4 separate regions of the Homo sapiens genome follow, and all the other regions are linked to region 3. The links are contacts of gene promoters, found by promoter capture Hi-C in blood cells and fetal thymus (Javierre and others, 2016). All regions are on one chromosome and are shown on one strand. Each heading gives the region's core, a stretch centred on a gene start or on the middle of the fragment in contact. The rest is flanking DNA. Distances are from core to core; before and after follow the strand shown. Region 1 holds the start of CFDP1 (craniofacial development protein 1). Region 2 overlaps TERF2IP (TERF2 interacting protein). Region 3 holds the start of NPIPB15 (nuclear pore complex interacting protein family member B15). Region 4 overlaps LINC01572 (long intergenic non-protein coding RNA 1572).

What was found. The method cuts DNA at HindIII sites, captures the fragments that hold promoters and counts their contacts. A CHiCAGO score of 5 or more calls a contact.
Region 1: a contact is called between the fragment with the promoter of CFDP1 here and the fragment with the promoter of NPIPB15 in region 3, in 6 of 17 cell types (total CD4 T cells, activated CD4 T cells, neutrophils and 3 more). The highest score is 9.2, in total CD4 T cells.
Region 2: a fragment that was not itself captured here is called in contact with the fragment with the promoter of NPIPB15 in region 3 in 1 of 17 cell types (monocytes); the score reaches 5.1 in monocytes.
Region 4: a contact is called between a fragment that was not itself captured here and the fragment with the promoter of NPIPB15 in region 3, in 2 of 17 cell types (total CD8 T cells and total B cells). The highest score is 6.5, in total CD8 T cells.

Annotation. Positions count from the first base shown.
Region 1 is chr16:75,430,575-75,435,057 of GRCh38, forward strand. CFDP1 (craniofacial development protein 1) reads right to left here and starts at 2,929. Exons shown (of 7, transcript NM_006324.3): 1 at 2,715-2,929. The coding sequence starts at 2,778. RefSeq lists silencers at 909-1,108, 2,365-2,604 and enhancers at 2,915-3,424, 2,968-3,535. The HindIII fragment of the contact is 10,360 bases long and covers 215-4,483 here.
Region 2 is chr16:75,650,597-75,654,946 of GRCh38, forward strand. TERF2IP (TERF2 interacting protein) reads left to right here. Exons shown (of 3, transcript NM_018975.4): 2 at 3,677-3,801. Among named protein-coding and RNA genes, the nearest start is that of TERF2IP, 5.0 kb to the left of the region's middle. The HindIII fragment of the contact is 2,243 bases long and covers 1,734-3,976 here.
Region 3 is chr16:74,373,396-74,377,654 of GRCh38, forward strand. NPIPB15 (nuclear pore complex interacting protein family member B15) reads left to right here and starts at 2,911. Exons shown (of 8, transcript NM_001306094.2): 1 at 2,911-3,951. The HindIII fragment of the contact is 9,807 bases long and covers 1-4,259 here.
Region 4 is chr16:72,660,127-72,664,360 of GRCh38, forward strand. The region is part of intron 1 of LINC01572 (long intergenic non-protein coding RNA 1572); the gene reads right to left. Among named protein-coding and RNA genes, the nearest start is that of LINC01572, 2.7 kb to the right of the region's middle. The HindIII fragment of the contact is 7,084 bases long and covers 1-4,234 here.

The DNA.
Region 1 (4,483 bases), core at 1,679-4,178, 1.1 Mb after region 3:
TGCCTCAGCCTCCCCAGTAGATAGGATTACAGGCGCCCGTCACCACACTTGGCTAATTTTCATATTTTCAGTAGAGATGGGGTTACACCACGTTGGCCAGGCTGGTCTTGAACTCCTGACCTCAAATGATCCACCAGCCTCTGCCTCCCTAAGTGATAGGATTATAGGCTCGAGCCACTGCTCGGCTGAGAACACAGTTTTATCATACAGATGAAGCTTTTAGCAGACAGGCTTCAGAGAGAATAGGTTGCAAAATGTTTATTATCAGACTTAAAGTCTGCATCGATGTTAATGTCAGAGACATACAATGAGGCAGGTTCAGCCCCCACTTCCCATCATGGCCCAAAACAGTCTCTCAGGTTAAATGTTAAAGAGCCCTGGCTAAGGAGGAAGTCCATTCAGATGGTTGGGGGCGCCTTAGAATTTTATTTTTGGTTTACAGCAGTTAAGTACATAGACAGCTAAGTAGCAACAAAAAATGGCAATTATTAGCACCAGAGAAAACAAGAAGTGCAGGAAAAGTAATCTGTATAACATACGGTTCAGCTGTCAACATGATGTTTATTCACACTGTCATTAGAAAAAAAAAACACTGGGCCTGGCACGGTGGCTCACGCCTGTAATCCCAGCACTCAGGGAGGCCGAGGCGGGCAGACCATTTGAGGTCAGGAGTTTGAAACAAGCCTGGCCAACATGGTGTAACTTCGTCTCTACTAAAAATACAAAAAAATCATTCGGGTGTGCTGGCGGGGACCTGTAGTCCCAGCTACTCAGGAGGCTGAGGCAAGAGAATGGCGTGAACCCGGGAGGCAGAGCTTGCAGTGAGACGAGATCCCGCTACTGCACTCCAGCCTGGGAGACAGAGCAAAACTCTTGTCTCAAAAAAAAAAAAAAAAAAAAAAAGAAAAGAAAAGAAAATCGATCGGGTGTGCTGGCGGGCGCCTGTAATCCCACCTACTTAGGAGGCTGAGGCAGAACTGCTTGAACCGGGAAGGCAGAGGCCGCATTAAGCAGAGACTGTGCCACTGCACTCCAGCCTGAGCCACAGAGCGAGACACTGTCTCGAAAGAAAAAAAAACACTGAATACTGATCTAACTAAAACTGGACACAGGTTCAACGGCAGACTACGGAGTTGGGGAGGCCCCGAAGGTGGAAGTGTTTGTGTGTGTGTTTGGGATGAGGGGAAGGAGGTCAGGGGCTACTAAAAATGATACCTACTATACATGGGTTAAATCAATAGACAACAGAAATATAATACCAAATTCAAAAGGTGGAAAGAAGTTTCTCCTGAGGAATATTAAATAAAATAGGGATGAGGGTGATGGGACTGGCTAACTTTTTTTTTTTTTTTTTTGAGACGGAGTCTCGCTCTGTCACCCAGGCTGGAGTGCAGTGGTGTGATCTCGGCTCACTGCAACCTCCACCTCCCGAGTTCAAGCGATTCTCCTGCTCCAGCCTCCTGAGGAGCTGGGACTACAGGCGCGTGCCACCATGCCCAGCTAATTTTTGTGTTTTTAGTACAGACGGGGTTTTACCATGTTGTCCAGGATGGTCTCGATCTCCAGACCTTGTGATCCACCCACCTCAGCCTCCCAAAGTGTTGGGATTACAAGCATGAGCCACCGCGCCAGGAATGGAATGGCTAGTTTTCAACGTGCCTTTTAGAAATACTTCACTAGCCGGGGCGCGGTGGCTCATGCCTGTAATCCCAGCACTTTGGGTGGCTGAGGTGGGAGGATCACTTGAGCCCACGAGTTCGAGACCAGCCTGGGCAACATAGCAAGATGCCATTTCTAAAAAAAAAAAAAAAAAAAAAAATTTAAAAAATTAGCGGGCGTGGCAGCCTGCACCTGCAGTCCCAGCTACTCCAGAGGCTGAGACGGGAGGATCGCTTGAGCCCAGGAGTCTGAGGTTGCAGTGAGCCAAGATCGCATCACTGCACTCCAGCCTAGACAACAGCAAGACCCTGTCTTTAAATAAAACAGAACAGAACAAAGTAAAACAAAGAGAATAGGGACGACTCCTGGGTTGTGTTTTGTTAGTCTGTTTGTTTCTTGTTTGTCTAGTCTTTCAACTGAAGATGTGAATGGGTGAAGATACTTTCAACGAGACGGTTTGTCTGGGGAAGACCAAGAAGGGGGAACAGAAAGATTTCTTCAGTAAGATTCATTCTCACCCCGTTCGGGTTGAGATCCCTAAGGAAAGAAAGTTCTGAGAGGAGAGGATGGGTGGACGTCACAATGAGGCAAAAAGCATCAAAGGGGGAACTTTCTATCAGAACTTTCTAACAACCAGGCGGAGAGCGGACAGCTCTATCTTGGACGGGGTGGTGGCCAGCAGCTCTCTCGGGCCAGGGCTGAAAAAAACCTCCAAGGCTCGGACTGCCGCCCCGACTTCTGAAGCAGCGGTGTCGTTCGGGGCTGACCGACGAGCGTCCCTAGCGACAAGGGGCCGTGTCCATGTGCCGGTTCCCGCGCTGCAAGAGGGGGCGGCGGCCGGAGCTGCCCAACGGGAGGGGAGCACAGAACCGCCACGCGCACACGCCTCGGGCCGGAGCGGCCGAGGATGAGGGGCCTGAGGGAGCGGACGCTCGAGAACAGGAGCCCCCCTGGACCACCTGGGCCACAGGGCAGACGCCCGCGGGGGCAGAGCGCGCCTCACGTGAGGCGTGGGGCGGGGCAATTCGCTTCTCGCCTCAGGCGGAATCGCTCACCCGACGGCACGTAGTCCTCGTCCTCCTCCGACGTAGAGAAGTCTTCGGAGTCGAATTCCTCCATGTTGCTGCCGCTCGACGCTGGTCAAACTCACAAGACCGCAGCAGCCGCCTCCAACGGCAAAGCTCTAGGGAGAGACCATAGAGCCCCGGCGGCGGCGACGGCAGCTAGGGCGGCCCCCGACAGCGCTTTGCACATGCGCAGAGAGTACTACGTGGTTGCCCTACGACACTTCCGGCCGATGCCTCCGGGCTGGCGTCCCTGAAGCCCTCGCTGGGAGCCCGAACCCGCCCGGACGCGGTGCATGCTGGAACTTGTAGTCTTCGGCGCTGCCTCGCCGCCTTAATATAATAAACCTGCTTAAATAAAATTACATATCTATGGAAATACAGGTGACCTTCATTAATCATTAATTCGTAATGCCAAATTCACTTACTTGCTAAAATGTATTTGTAACCCTAAAATCAATCATCACGGTACTGTCTGGGGTTCTTCCCGGGCATGCGCAGAGGGTGAAAATTTGGAGTTGGCGGAGGTAAGGTTCCCAGCTGAAGTTTGAACTGGGAGAAGCGCCGCCTTCTAGTCGCAGCTCCTGTGCTGTAAACAAAGAGTCCTTTCCGCAGTCTGTTTACTGACACTTTTTTTTCTGCTTTTTGTGGGTGGTTTTGCTTTCTAAAATGGCCCCCAAGCGTAGTGCTTAAGCTCTGCCCAGTGTTCCTAAGCGAAAGAAGACCGTGATGTGCCTTACGGAGAAAGTCCGCGTGTTGGATAAGCTCCAATCAGGCATGAGTTACAGTGCTGTTGGCCATGAGCTCAATGTTAACGAGTCGACAATCCGGTACATCAAGAAAAAGGAAAAGGAAATTCACCGATCTGTCCGTGAGGCCGCTCCGGATAGTGCTGAAGTGACCTCCATCGTGCGTGATGAAGCTATGACAAAGATGGAAAAGATGGAAAAGCGGCTAAATTTGTGGATTCATGAGATGTCAATCGATTAAAAAAAACATAGTGGACAGCATTGTGGTGAGGCTGAAAGCCAAAGATATCTGTGGTCACGTTACCCAGAGTCAAAGAAATGCTAAGCCCTTCTCGGCGAGTGCTGGCCGGCTCGCGCGTTTCAAAAGGCGATACGGGGTGAAAAATGTTAAACTTGCAGGTGAGGCGAGCTCTGCAGATCAGGAGGCTGCGGAAGAATTTTAAAAATACTTGCTAAGTGTTATACAGGAAAAGGGTTATGTGAAAGAGCAGGTTTTCAATGCGGATGAGACTGGCTTATTTTACAAGGATGTTGGCAAACGAACCTATATAATGCAAACGGCCTCCAAAGCCCCTGGCTTTAAATCATGCCAGGATCATGCACCCTTGTTATTGTGCGCCAATGCCAAGAGCGACTAAAGTGCAAACTCCTAATGGTGTAAAGAACCCAAAATCCACAAGCACTTAACGGGAAATACGTGAACCATCTGCCAGTCTATTGGAGGTGGAACAAAAAAGTGTGGATGATGTCTGATTGGTTCCACAACTGCTTCATCCCAGAAGCTGAACACTGTCTCCAGGGCAGAAACCTTGCCTTCAAGGGTTTTTTGTTTTGTTTTGTTTTGTTTTTTGTTTGTTTGGGTTTGTTTTGTTTTGGTTTGGTTTTGAAACGGAGTCTCGCTCTGTCGCCCAGGCTGGAGTGCAGTGGCGCAATCTCGGCTCACTGCAAGCTCCGCCTCCCGGGTTCACGTCATTCTCCTGCCTCAGCCTCCCGAGTAGCTGGGACTACAGG
Region 2 (4,350 bases), core at 1,605-4,104, 1.3 Mb after region 3:
GCGATCACGGCTCACTGCAGCCTTGACTTCCCAGGCTCAGTGGATCCTCCCACCTCAGCTTTCCAAGTAGCTGGGACTACAGGCACTCGTCACCATACCTAGCTAATTTTTGTATTTTTTTGTAGAGACAGGATTTGGCCGTGTTGCCCAGGCTGGTCTCGAACTCCTGGGCTCAAGGGATCTGCCCGACTTGGCCTCCCAAAAGTGCTAGGATTCCAGGTGTGAGCCACCATGCTGTGTCTGGGACTTGCTTTTAAATCCGTGATGTTGGGGCTATTGGCAAGCCATTTGGAACTTGGGACAAAATTAAGCTGTATTCATCCTACCCATCTAAGTAATCTTTTGATAATCAGATATTTAAATGTAAAAATTAAAAAATTCTAAAATGAGTAAGAGAAGATATGAATGAATATATCAGTATGGTGGGAGTTGCTCTGAACCATTTGTGGTTCAGGATGCTGCCTGATTTGCCAGAAGAAAAAAAGTAAAAATATTAGCATGGTGATAAGTTATGAAGCCAAAAAGACAAAGAAAAAGTTTTATATATTTGATTACCTGAAAATTAAGAACTTCTCATGATAAATAAAGTCAGAGGGCATGCTGGAAAAACATTCCCAATACACTGCAATAGACTTAGTTTCTTTAATGTCTAAAGAGCTCTTTGTCATTAAGTAAGAAGTCATTAAGTAAAAAGAAAACTAATAGAAAAATGAGAAAAGGAAATGGAACAGGAAGTTCCCAGAAAAGGAAATAAATAAGCGGCCGATAAACAAATGAAGAAATAGTCTGTTATTAAATGAAAGTAAATCAGACCGAGTGCGGTGGCTCATGCCTGTAATCCTAGCACTTTGGGAGGCCAAGGTGGCAGACCACTTGAGGTCAGGAGTTCGAGACCAGCCTGGCCAACATGATGAAACTCCGTCTCTACTAAAAACTACAAAAACTATCCAGGCATGGTGGCATGCGCCTGTAATCGCAGCTACTCAGGCAGCTGAGGCATGAAAATTGCTTGAACCAGGGAGGTGTAGGTTGCAATGAGCTGAGATCAAGCCCCTGCACTCCAGCCTGGGTGACAGAACCAGACTCCATCTCGGAAAGAAAAAAAGAAGAAGAAAGAAAGTAAATCAGACCCTGAGCCTAGGGTCAGTATAAGCTATACTTTGACCCATGAGACCTGTGAGATAATAAATATGTGTGTTGGAATTGTTTTGTATTTATTTGATGAATTGAGATAGCTTCCATTATACAAAATAGAACAAAAGCTCCCCAAGTTATTTATTTTTTTTAACTAAATCAGAGCAAGGAGATGTTATACTTTATCTATAAGATTGGCAAAAGTCAATACAATGGGTAATATCCAAAGTTAGTGTATGGGAAAACAAGTATACTCCTACGTTGTTAATAGAAATTGATACAATTTCTTTGGGGGGCATTTTGACAATATCTGATGACATTTATAACGTATATTCCCTTAAACATGGCAGTTTTGTTCTAGGAATTTATCCCGTAGATATACTCAGAGTACAAATGGGTACATACTGAAAAGGCAGTCTCCCTATTTACATACCCTTTTCCCTGGGTCCTTTCCTAGGGGCAGCCTCTATTACCGTCTCTTGTCTGTTGCATGTCCCCTTTGCTCATAGTAATACTAGCACACTAGACATCAACTTAATCTGTGGTTTACTTTTTTTAAACTTAATTATTTATCTTGAAGTGTTTGTGTGTCTGCACAAAGCTTTTCCTCATTCTTTTCTAATTGATTGCACTGTATTTCATTATGTGAATGAACAGTAATTTACTTTTTATTATGGAGAATTCCAAGCATTTACAAATACAGAATAGTATAATGAACTATACTGCATATACCCATCACCCACCTTCACCTGATTTTAGTTCATGGCATTTTTTAAATCTATACTTTTCATCCCAACTTCCTGGACTGTTTTGAAGCAAATGCCAGACATCATATCATTTTATCTATTTTAGCATGTATCTCTCAAAGATAAGCCTCTTTTAGTTACTATTTAAGAATTTTATTAAATACATACAGTAAAATTAACTTTTTATGGTGTAAAATTATATGCATTTTAAAAACTTTATTTTTTATTGTGGTAAAATGTATATACCGTAAAATTTACAGTTCAGATAGTTTTTTAAGTGTTCTGTTCAGTGGCATTATTAAGTGCATTCACATTGTTGGGCAACTGTCACCACCATCTGTATCTAGAACTTACTCATTTTCTAAAACTGAAACTCCATGCCTTTTATTATTTTCTGCTTCTAGGGGTCAGAAACATGCCTATTAAACACTAATTCCCCATTTCTCCCTCCTCTTAGCCCCTGGAAACAACCATTCCGCCTTCTGTTTCTATGAATTCAATATTTCTAGATACCTCATACAAGTAGAATCATGTAATATTTGCCCTTTTGTGTCTGGCTTATTTCACTTTACATAATATCTTCAAAGTTCATCCATATTGTAGCATGTGTCAGAATTTGATTCCTTTTTAAAGGTGAATAATATTCCATTGTATGTATATACTACATTTTGTTTTTCCATTAATGTATCAATTGACATTTGGCTTATTTCCATCTTTTGTTTATTTTGAATAATGCTGCTGTGAACATGGGTATAACTAGTATCTGTTTGAGACCCTGCTTTCCATTATTTTAGGTATATGCCTAGAAATGCAATTGCTGGATCATATGGTAATTTTATGTTTAATTTTTTCTTTTTCCTTGTGGGTTGTCATCATGAAATTATATTGAATTTTTTGAGGAACTGCTGTACTCTTTTCCAGTTATATGTGTTTTAACATAGGTAAATTTTTGTAACCAGCACCCACATTGGGATTTAGAACAATTCCATCACGAAAAACTCCCTCTTGCTGCCCCTTTGTAGTATGTTTTAGTAAGTAGAAAAGGAGCAGAGTTAAATCTTCAGAGAACAAAATGTAAAGGAAAGGAACAGGATGTTTAAATTTAGGAGGCCCTCCTTTTTGTAGATGGTATATTGGTGGATTGTGGTACGTGGCCCAGATCTGCCTTTGGCTGCTAGGAGAGCTGCCTTGCCCAAACTCCTGTCTTCTTAGGGCTGCCACCATCCAGTGACTGATATTTGCAGAGTTACAAAGTCTGCTCCTTGGCCCCAGCTTGGTCAGTTCTGAAGGGCCTTCCTAGCTCCAGAGTTGCCCATGGTTTTGGCTGAGGTCTTGTTGAAACTCTTTGATAAGTCAGCTTCTCTCTCTGCCCACTCCTGCTCTTCCACAAAGGTTTTCCCAAAATCACTTCCCAATTCTTTAAATTTCCATCTCCATCTCAGAATTTGCTTCCCAAGGAACCCAATTTATGACACATTTTTATTAATTTGCAAAGTCTGTAACTACAAAGCAAAAAATGAATTAAACTTGAGCATTTTTATATGTCAGAGTTTAAGAATGTATCATTGTTTGGATAGTACATCTTTTCAGAAGCAAGCATAGAAATGGGTGAATGAGCACGTCCTAGGCTTTTTTTACCCTTCTGAATCAAGAACAGATGTCTTCTGATAGTAAAAAAAAAAAAAAAAAAAAAAAAAGTGCAGGCTCACTCCTGGCCCAGAGCTCACACAGCAAATATATTTTTGGTTTATGTAAAAGAGGCTATTGCTAATCTGTGCTGTTCTTCTCTTTAACAGAACCACAGAATAAGAGAACTCCAGATTTGCCTGAAGAAGAGTATGTGAAGGAAGAAATCCAGGAGAATGAAGAAGCAGTCAAAAAGATGCTTGTGGAAGCCACCCGGGAGTTTGAGGAGGTTGTGGTATGTTAACTAGATTTACTCATTATTTTTTTCCCTACCTTCATTCTTCTTTGAAACTGGTTATCCTGTACACCTTTTTCATCTACCTGGGGCTCAGGAAAGTGAGAGAGGAGTTCAAGATGGAAAGGGAAAATGGAAAATGGGACTGATCTGGGCTTCAGACATGTTGCCCTGAAGCTTTTGCTTCACAAAGCTTTTAGTTTTTGGCAGGACAAGTTGAGGGGGAAAGGGAGAAAAATTGGGTAGAATAGGGACAGTTGTATAAACAGTATAAAGCATCCCACTTTGAGTACTTTAATGTCAATATATTTTTCAAAAAGTTTATAGTAATTGTTTTTTCTATTTTTTTGAGCCAGAGTCTGGCTCTGTCGCCCAGGCTGGAGTGCAGTGGTGCGATCTTGGCTCACTGCAAGCTCCGCCTCCTGGGTTCACACCATTCTCCTGCCTCAGCCTCCCGAGTAGCTGGGACTACAGGCGCCCACCACCATGCCTGGCTAATTATTTGTATTTTTAGTAGAGACGGGGTTTCACTGTGTTAGCCAGGATGGC
Region 3 (4,259 bases), core at 1,661-4,160:
CTGTCTGATAGTGCAATTATATAAGAATGGTGAAATCAGGGCCTACGCCTTCTTAAGGAAATCTTCACTCACTGCAGTCTTGCAAGTCAATGGTCTTATTCTGCTTATCCAACTAATTCTGGAGCAGCTACATCTGGGAACCCCGTAGGCTCACGTCTACAACAGTGTCTTCATCCTGTCTTCTCAATCAGCCCCTTCTATTTCCAGTTCCAGGAATGGCCAACCACACCAGAAACCTGGGACTCACCTGGTCTCCCCACTCGCCTCTCCCTCCACCTCCTGCTCATCACCCAGCCTCAAAGGGTCTGTCTCCTCAGTGCCTCTCCTCTGTTCGGACCTCTCTGTCCCTACCACCGCTGCTGTGGTTGAGAGGGTTGTCAGCCCTGACTTCGAGAACAATCTTTTTTTTTTTTTGAGATGGAGCCTCAGTCTGTCGCCCAGGCTGGAGTGCAGTGGTGCGATCTTGGCTCACTGCAACCTCCGCCTCCCGGGTTGAAGTGATTCTCCTGCCTCAGCCTCCTGAGTAGCTGGGATTACAGGCATGCACCACCATGCCCCGCTAATTTTTGTATGTTTAGTAGAGACTGGGTTTCACCATATTGGTCAGGCTGGTCTCGAACTCCAAACCTTGTGATCCGCCCGCCTCTGAGATCAGAACTGAGATCACGCCACTGCATTCCAACCTGGGCAACAAGAGCTAACTCTGTCTCAAAAAAAAAAAAAAAAGTTTTTAAAGACAGGGTCTCGCTATGTTGCCCATGCTGGTCTTGAATTCCTGGGGTCAAGTGATGCTTCTGCTTTAGCCTCCCAAGGAGCTGGAATCATGGGTGCCCACCACCATGCTCGGCTACTATTTTCTTCAAAATTCAAATATTCTAGCTTAACAGTACCTATTAGATAAATAAATGGCAATTTTCTGGAACATTCTTTTTTTGGTTTTGTTTTGGTTTTTTTTTTTTTTTTTTTTTTTTGAAACGGAGTCTCCCTCTGTCGCCCAGGCTGGAGTGCAGTGGCGCAATCTCGGCTCACTGCCAGCTCCGCTTCCCGAGTTCACGCCATTCTCCTGCCTCAGCCTGCCGAGTAGCTACGACTACAGGTGCCTGCTACCACGCCCGGCTAATTTTTCTGTAGTTTTAGTAGAGACGGGGTTTCACCGTGTTAGCCAGGATGGTCTCGATCTCCTGACCTCGTGATCCACCCGCCTCGGCCTCCCAAAGTGCTGGGATTACAGGCTTGAGCCGTGGCACCCGGCCCAGGAACTTCTCTTATATCTAGAAGCCAGGCTTGGTGACTCTACTTGCTCACCAGATGATCCTACACCTGCCACCTCCGATGGATCCACTGCCTCTGTGCCTGCCTGTACTGCTGATGCTCCAGTGGATAACTCAGCATCCCAGCCTAGGCCCAATGCCACTGAAGATGGACCTGCCCCCTGGAGACCCAGGAGTTCTACCACTCAGCTGTCCCCAGAAGTGCCCAGACCCTCATTCTTATCCAGGACCTAGGAGCCCTACCCCCTGGCCTTCCGTCATCAGCCGTAAATGATGATTTACTGCTGTTACCATCATCACTGCATTTAGTAACCAAGGGCCTTCCAAGGTGCCAGCTCTGGAACGAAGGATGCCTTTGGGAGGTGATGACACTCAGGTACACGGGTGCTCAACAGATTGCTTCCTCCTATCCTCAGATGGTCTTTGCATGCATGCAGCCATTGGCACTCCCATTGTACGCAAGGAAACCAGCCCAGGGTCACACAGCTGGTCAGCAGCAACACAGCTGGTCTCAAATCTAAGGTGCCTGGCCATGCCTCCATGAGGGACCGCCTGCAAGGGAGGTTGATCCTGGCTTTGGGGAGCCTTTCCTGGGCTGCACGAGTAACCTCCAATGTTTGAGGCCCCAAACTCTGCTCACATCTTCCTTTCCCTGTCTCTGCTTGGGCTATGATCACGGTGACTCTAGCAACCCTTCATGGACATTATAGTACTCTCTGCCATTCACTTTTGGTCTAATCTGACTTCAACCCCCACTTACTTGGTCTCTCCTTTTACAACCAACACAACCGAAATCCGAGGGCTTCTTTTTTTTTGAGACAGAGTCTCATTCCATTCTGTCACCCAGGCTGGAGTGCAATGGCACGATCTCGGCTCACTGCAACCTCCACCTCCTGGGTTCAAGGGATTGTCCTGCCTCAGCCTCCTGAGTAGCTGGGATTACAGGCGGGTGCCACCGTGCCTGGCTAATTTTTGTATTTTTAGTAGAGACGGGGTTTCACCATGTTGGTCAGGCTGATCTCGAACTCCTAACCTCGTGATCCGCCTGCCTCAGCCTCCCAAAGTGCTGGGATTACAGGCGTGAGCCACCATGCCCAGCCAAATCTAGGGCTGGAACATGGCTGCAGCATATAAATAGAATTGAATTCCATAGTTTTGTTAACCCTGTTTTTTGTTTGTTTGTAGTTGTTGCTGTTTTTGAGACTGAGTCTCGCTCTGTCGCCTAGGCTGGAGTGCAGTGGTGCAATCTCGGCTCACTGCAGACTCTGCCTCCCGGGTTCAAACTATTCTCCTGCCTCAGCCTCCCAAGTAGGTGGGACTAAGGCGCCCACCACCACACCCGGCTAATTTTTGTATTTTATTAGAGACAGGGTTTCACCATATTGGCCAGGCTGGTCTGGAACTCCTGACCTTGTGATCCACCCACCTCGGCCTCCCAAAGTGCTGGGATTACAGGCGTGAGCCACCACACCCAGCCCCTGTTTTGTTTTTGTTTTGCTTGTTTCTTAGGGTTGTTTTTCTATTTATGGTAAAGGCATTGGCTTTCCATTTGTAGCATCAATAGAATATTTCCTGTTTACAATAACCTTATGTCATAGTAAATGGTAAAGGGATTTAAAGCAGTGGTTTTCAGCTGCCAGAGGCCTGAGTGAGTTTGGGCACACTCTGTGTGATCGGGCAGAAGGCCTGTGGGAAGTTCAGCTGAGGACAGGGCCAGGAAAGGTGATGGACAGTGGGGGTCTGTCCTGGTCACCAGACCCCTGGGTCCTGCCCACCTGCTTGGAGCTCCCCACCCATCACACATGATGCTGCCAAGCCCTCTGGGTATTGTGGGCAAATACCTTAGGAGAGAAGCTGATGAACTTTGTTTCTTGAAATGCACAGATTCCTTGGACGTCCCTGAGAGGTCAATGATGAAGGTCAACTTGGTTTTCTCCCCCTCATTTGGGTTCAGAATTTAAAGTCCACACACACAGGCAGTAAGATGATTATAGATAAGGACATCATCACTCGGTTTCAGATGTTAAAATGTCTAGGTGGGTTAGGGGTGATTTGAGATCACACAACCTTGTGCCACAAAGAGGAATTCCCAGGCCAGGGGGAGACATTTTATTGCCATGTTATGATCTCATCATTGAGTTGAAAGGCAATCTTGTTTCATTTTGGATTCTTTCTTATGTTTATGTCTTATAAGGGCACTTTGAATTTCCAAGCAAATAATAATTTTGAATTAGCTTTTAATCATTGACTTCTAGCACAGTTATATGATCAGAAACATGCTGTGTGATTTGATTGCTCTCAAATATATTGAGATTTGCTGGAACAAAATAAGTCAGGTTAATTTTTGTAAATGTACCATGCATGCTTAAAATGAATGTATCTACATTTGTTCCTGAGATACAGGTTGATGGACGGATGGCTACATGGATGTGATGGAGATGGTTTACTATCGGGACCTTCCGCATCCTGCTGATGTTTTGTTGCTTAGGATATGAATGGCTGAGCGGAGGCTGTAAAACCTGGCACTCTGCTTGGGTATGAAGTTCTTCCTGCCATCCTGCCATCATTTGTTTTTTATGTTTTGTCGCCAAAAGTGACCTTGAGGAACCCTGGGAGCTCAGGAAGGAAGGAGAGCCCAGAAGCAGGGACAGGGAGCTGGTTGGGGAGGACCAGAAATCAGGTTTGTGAAGGTTCCAGAGAGGACCTGTCCTTGCGAGGAGTGTGGGAGACTGAGATGGGGGAGGGGTCATTGGAATGATGCGGGCGCTACTTGGCATTGTCCATTGTGAGGCACCACCGGGGTCATCAGGGATTGGTGGAGAGGGAGTATAAAGCCCCAGGGTTGCTAAGGGAGGGCCCAGACCGAAGAAGGTTTGGTGGATAGCAGAACCTTTTTGTCTCCCTCTAATTGCTCCTAAGCCTCACGCTCCCTTGCCCCACGTGTCCTGTTGCTTCCCTGATCTTCTCCGTGACCTGTAGCTAAACCTT
Region 4 (4,234 bases), core at 1,134-3,633, 1.7 Mb before region 3:
TATTTCTAAATGCTAATTCTGTATTATATCTGTTACAGATTCTTCTGCAATGTTTTTCCCCTCTAACTATGATTGTGAGATATATCATATTGATACATACTGTTTGGCTTCATTATTTTAATAGCATCACTTTCATTTTAAGAATATACAACCATTTTTATCATTCTTCTACTGATGGACATTTAGTTTCCATGTTTCTACTATTACAAACATTGCTTTTTGAACAGCCCCTTAGATCACAACTAGAGTTATTTTTCTCTTTTTCACAACAGCTTTATTGAGATATAACTTATATATCATAAAATTCACCCTTTAAAGTGTACGATTCATAGTTTTGAGAGTATTCATAAAGCTGTGCAACCACCACAACTATCTAATTCCAGACTATTTGCATCATCTCAAAAAGAAACTCTATACTCATTAGCAGTAATTTTCCATTCTCCCCTGCCCTGGCCCCTATCAACCATTAATCTACTTTCTATCTCTATGGATTTGCCTATTTTGGAAATTTTTTATAAATAAAATCATACAATATATGACCTTTTGTGACTGGCTTCTTTCACTTAACATGTTTCCAAGGTTCAGCCATGTTGTAGATGTACATTAATTTGATTGTGGTGATGGTTTCATGGGTACATGTCAAAACTTATCAAAGTATACACTTTAAAAATATGAAATTTGTTGTACGTAAATTGTACCTCAATAAAACTACCAAATAAAATAGGCAAAACAGGTCAGGCATGGTAACTCAAACGCCTGTAATCCCAGCACTTTGAGAGGCCAAAGCAGGTGGATCCCCAAGGTCAGGAGTTCGAGACCAGCCTGGCCAATGTGGTGAAACCATGTCTCTACTAAAAATACAAAAATTAGCTGGGCATGGTGGCGTGCGCCTGTAATCCTAGCTACTCGTGAGACTTAGGTGGGAGAACTGCTTGAACCCAGGAGGAGGAGGCTGCAGTGAGCTGAGATCGCACCACTGCACTCCAGCCTGGGCAACAGAGTGAGACTGCATCTCAAAAAAAAAAAAAAAAAAAAAAGGGCAAAACATTTTTATAGATGCTTCACAAAAGACGTTCAGATAACAAGTGGATGAATGACTGACTACTCTATTTCATTAAGCATCAGAGAAATATAACTTAAAATTACAATGAGACATCAGTACAGACCCAGAGCAATAGTTTAAAAAATTTAAACTACTAACTACTATAAACCCCAAGGGCTGATATGACTGTTGAATAACTGGAACTGCCATATGCAGCTGATGGGAATGCAAAATGGGACAGCCACTTTTGAAAAAGGTTTTAAAGTATTTTATGAAATTAAGGCTGAGCATGGTGCCTCACACCTATAATCCCAACATTTTGGGAGGCTGAGGTGGAAGGATTGCTTGAGGCAGGAGGTTAAGACCAGGAGGTTAAGTCCAGCCTGGACAACATAGCAAGACCTTTTTTCTACCAAACATTACAAATTAGCTAGGCCTGGTGACATGCTCCTGTAGTCCCAGCTACTTGAAAAGGCTGAGGCCCAGGAATTCGAGGTTATGGTGAGCCATATCCTACCTCAAAAACAAAACAAAACAAAACAAAACAAAAATAGAGAGGAAAAAAAAAAGCAAAGAGCAAGCAAGCAAGCAAGAAATTAAAATCTTTGGCCACACAAACACCTGTAGCCAAATGTTTATAGCAGCTTTATTACTAACAGCCAAAACCTGGAAACAACTCAAAGCCCATTAACTGCTGAATGGATAAACAAACTGGTAATACATATAATGGAATACTACTCACACATTAAAAGAAAAAATTAGTGATACATGCAAGAACATAGATGAATCTTGAAAGTATTATATCAAGTGAAAGAAGCCAGACACTACCAGCTCATACTATGTGATTCCACTAACATGATGCCTCCAAACACAAACCTATAGCAGTAGATATCAGATCAAGGGTTGCTAGGGACCAATGGTGAGGATAGAAAATCGATAATAAGTGCATGAGACTTTACAGACTTACAGATATACTAAAAATGATTGTGATAGTTCACAACTCTTCACATTTGTCCAAACTCATAGAACAGTATTCCTTAAAAGAGTCAACTTTACCATATGCAAATTATGACTAAATATGCCCGACTTTGTTTTTTCAAAAGTGAGGGTGAGGTGGGATGGGGTTGGGGGAGACATTATATACAGGAGAACAAAGATAAGAATGACACCAAATATCTAAAAACAACAGCCAGAGGACAATAGAATATTAAAGTGCTAAAAAAAGTCAACCTACAATTATATATCCAGTTTAAAAATAAATCTTTCAAAAATGAAAGTTAAATAAAAACATTTTCTAAGAAACAAACACTGACAGAATCCTTCACCTACATGCAGTATTAAATAAATGAAGTTATTCAAACTGAAGGAAAATTATGAAAATATGGATCTACATAGATGGATGTATTCTATCAAACACTTAACAATGCAATGCCAATCTTATACAAACTTTTTCAAGAAGTAAAGAATACAACACATCCCAGATCACTTAAAGATGTCAGACACCATTACCCTAATTCTAAAACCAGACAATCAAAATAAAGCAAAACTGAAGACCAATCTCCCCAAAATGGCAACCGAACAGTGAAAAAAAATTTAGTTAAAGCCATTCCTCACATCATATATAAAAGCAAATTTCAGGTAAGCTAATGTTCTCATGTGAAAGATAATGCCTGAGATGGTTAGGAAGAAGATTATGAGATTATATTCAGGTATATGCTGGTAGAATTCACCATAAAATTATTTTAATATAAAACATCCAAAAAATTAAGGCACACAAACTATTTTCACTCTTCATGTTGATCAAGAATTTTCCTATTTCTTGTTAATTCAAAAAGACTCTGGATGCAATACCTTGTGAACTTATTTTTTGGTATGCCCCTGTGCTCATATACTACCTTACTACCTTTATCTCTCTGTTTTTTGTTTGTTTGTTTTGGAGATAGGCACGATCATTGGCCACTGCAGCCTGGAATTCCCCGGCCCAAGTGATCCTCCCACCTCAGCCTCCTGAGTAGCTGGGAGCAAGGCGAACACCACCACGGCTGGCTAATTTTAAAATTTTTTTGTAGAGATGGGGTCCGACTATCGTCTTGAACTCCTGGGTTGGTCTCGAACTCCTGGGCTGAAGCAGTCTTTCCACCTCAGCCTCCCAAAGTGTTGGTTGGGATTACAGGCGTGGACCGCCACACTTAGAAATGACTTTTCTAATATCCTTAAATCAGAGCTCATGTAAAATTTTCAGCCTTCTCATTCCACCTCCCTCCGAACTACAAGTCTTAAAACTAAGAAATGACAGCCATTCGGTAGAAGTTAAAACACTGTTTCGCTGCTTATTTCTACTTAAAAAAATTATATACATAGATATATATTATGTAAATATATATAATTATATATATAGACATACGTGTGTGTATATATATAAATAAACGTGTAGAATTGGACTGGGGTCCCACTAATATCCACATTTCAAAACAGAATCTAAAACTCCCTAAAACAGGGTTGGGCTCGGCGGCTCACGCTTGTAATCCCAACCCTTTGGGAGGCTGACACTGGAGATCAGTCTGAGCAACAAAGTCAGATCTCTTTTCTACTAAAACAAAATACAACTCTCTAAAACTAATACAAAATTTTGTGTGTATGTGTCATATTCTGGAGAAAAGCTCCAAGGTTTTCCTCTGGGTCTTAAACAGGACTAAGACCCCCCACCCCCAAAAGAATCTCTGTTCTAGAGGCTAAGCATATAGAAGCTCATACTGCATTATCAAACTGGAAAGTTAATAGAGGATTTTCATGGTCATATACAGGAGAGGTGGGGAAAGCTGTCTATTTAGACTGTAAACTCCTAAAATGTTCATAAATCTCAATGGAAATTAAATCCACCGGGGTGGGAGAAGTATCACAATAGACAAAGAAGCTAAAGGTTAATGAAGAGAAGGTTTTAATCAGTGGTTACTTTTGTGCTTGGGATCAATCCTCAGTTTGTCCTCCAACGTAACTTTTGGCATTATTCATTTCAAAGTCTGAACAGTATCCATAAACCCAATACGAAACCTATGGATCCAGAGGGTCCGACCGAAAACAAAACAATTATGTTTCCGATGTGAACGCATCAATAGCTTACTTTTGTAGCGCTTTATAAAACGCTGTCACTTGCTGCTTTCCACGTCATGATATTCCCGGTCGGGAAGAGTA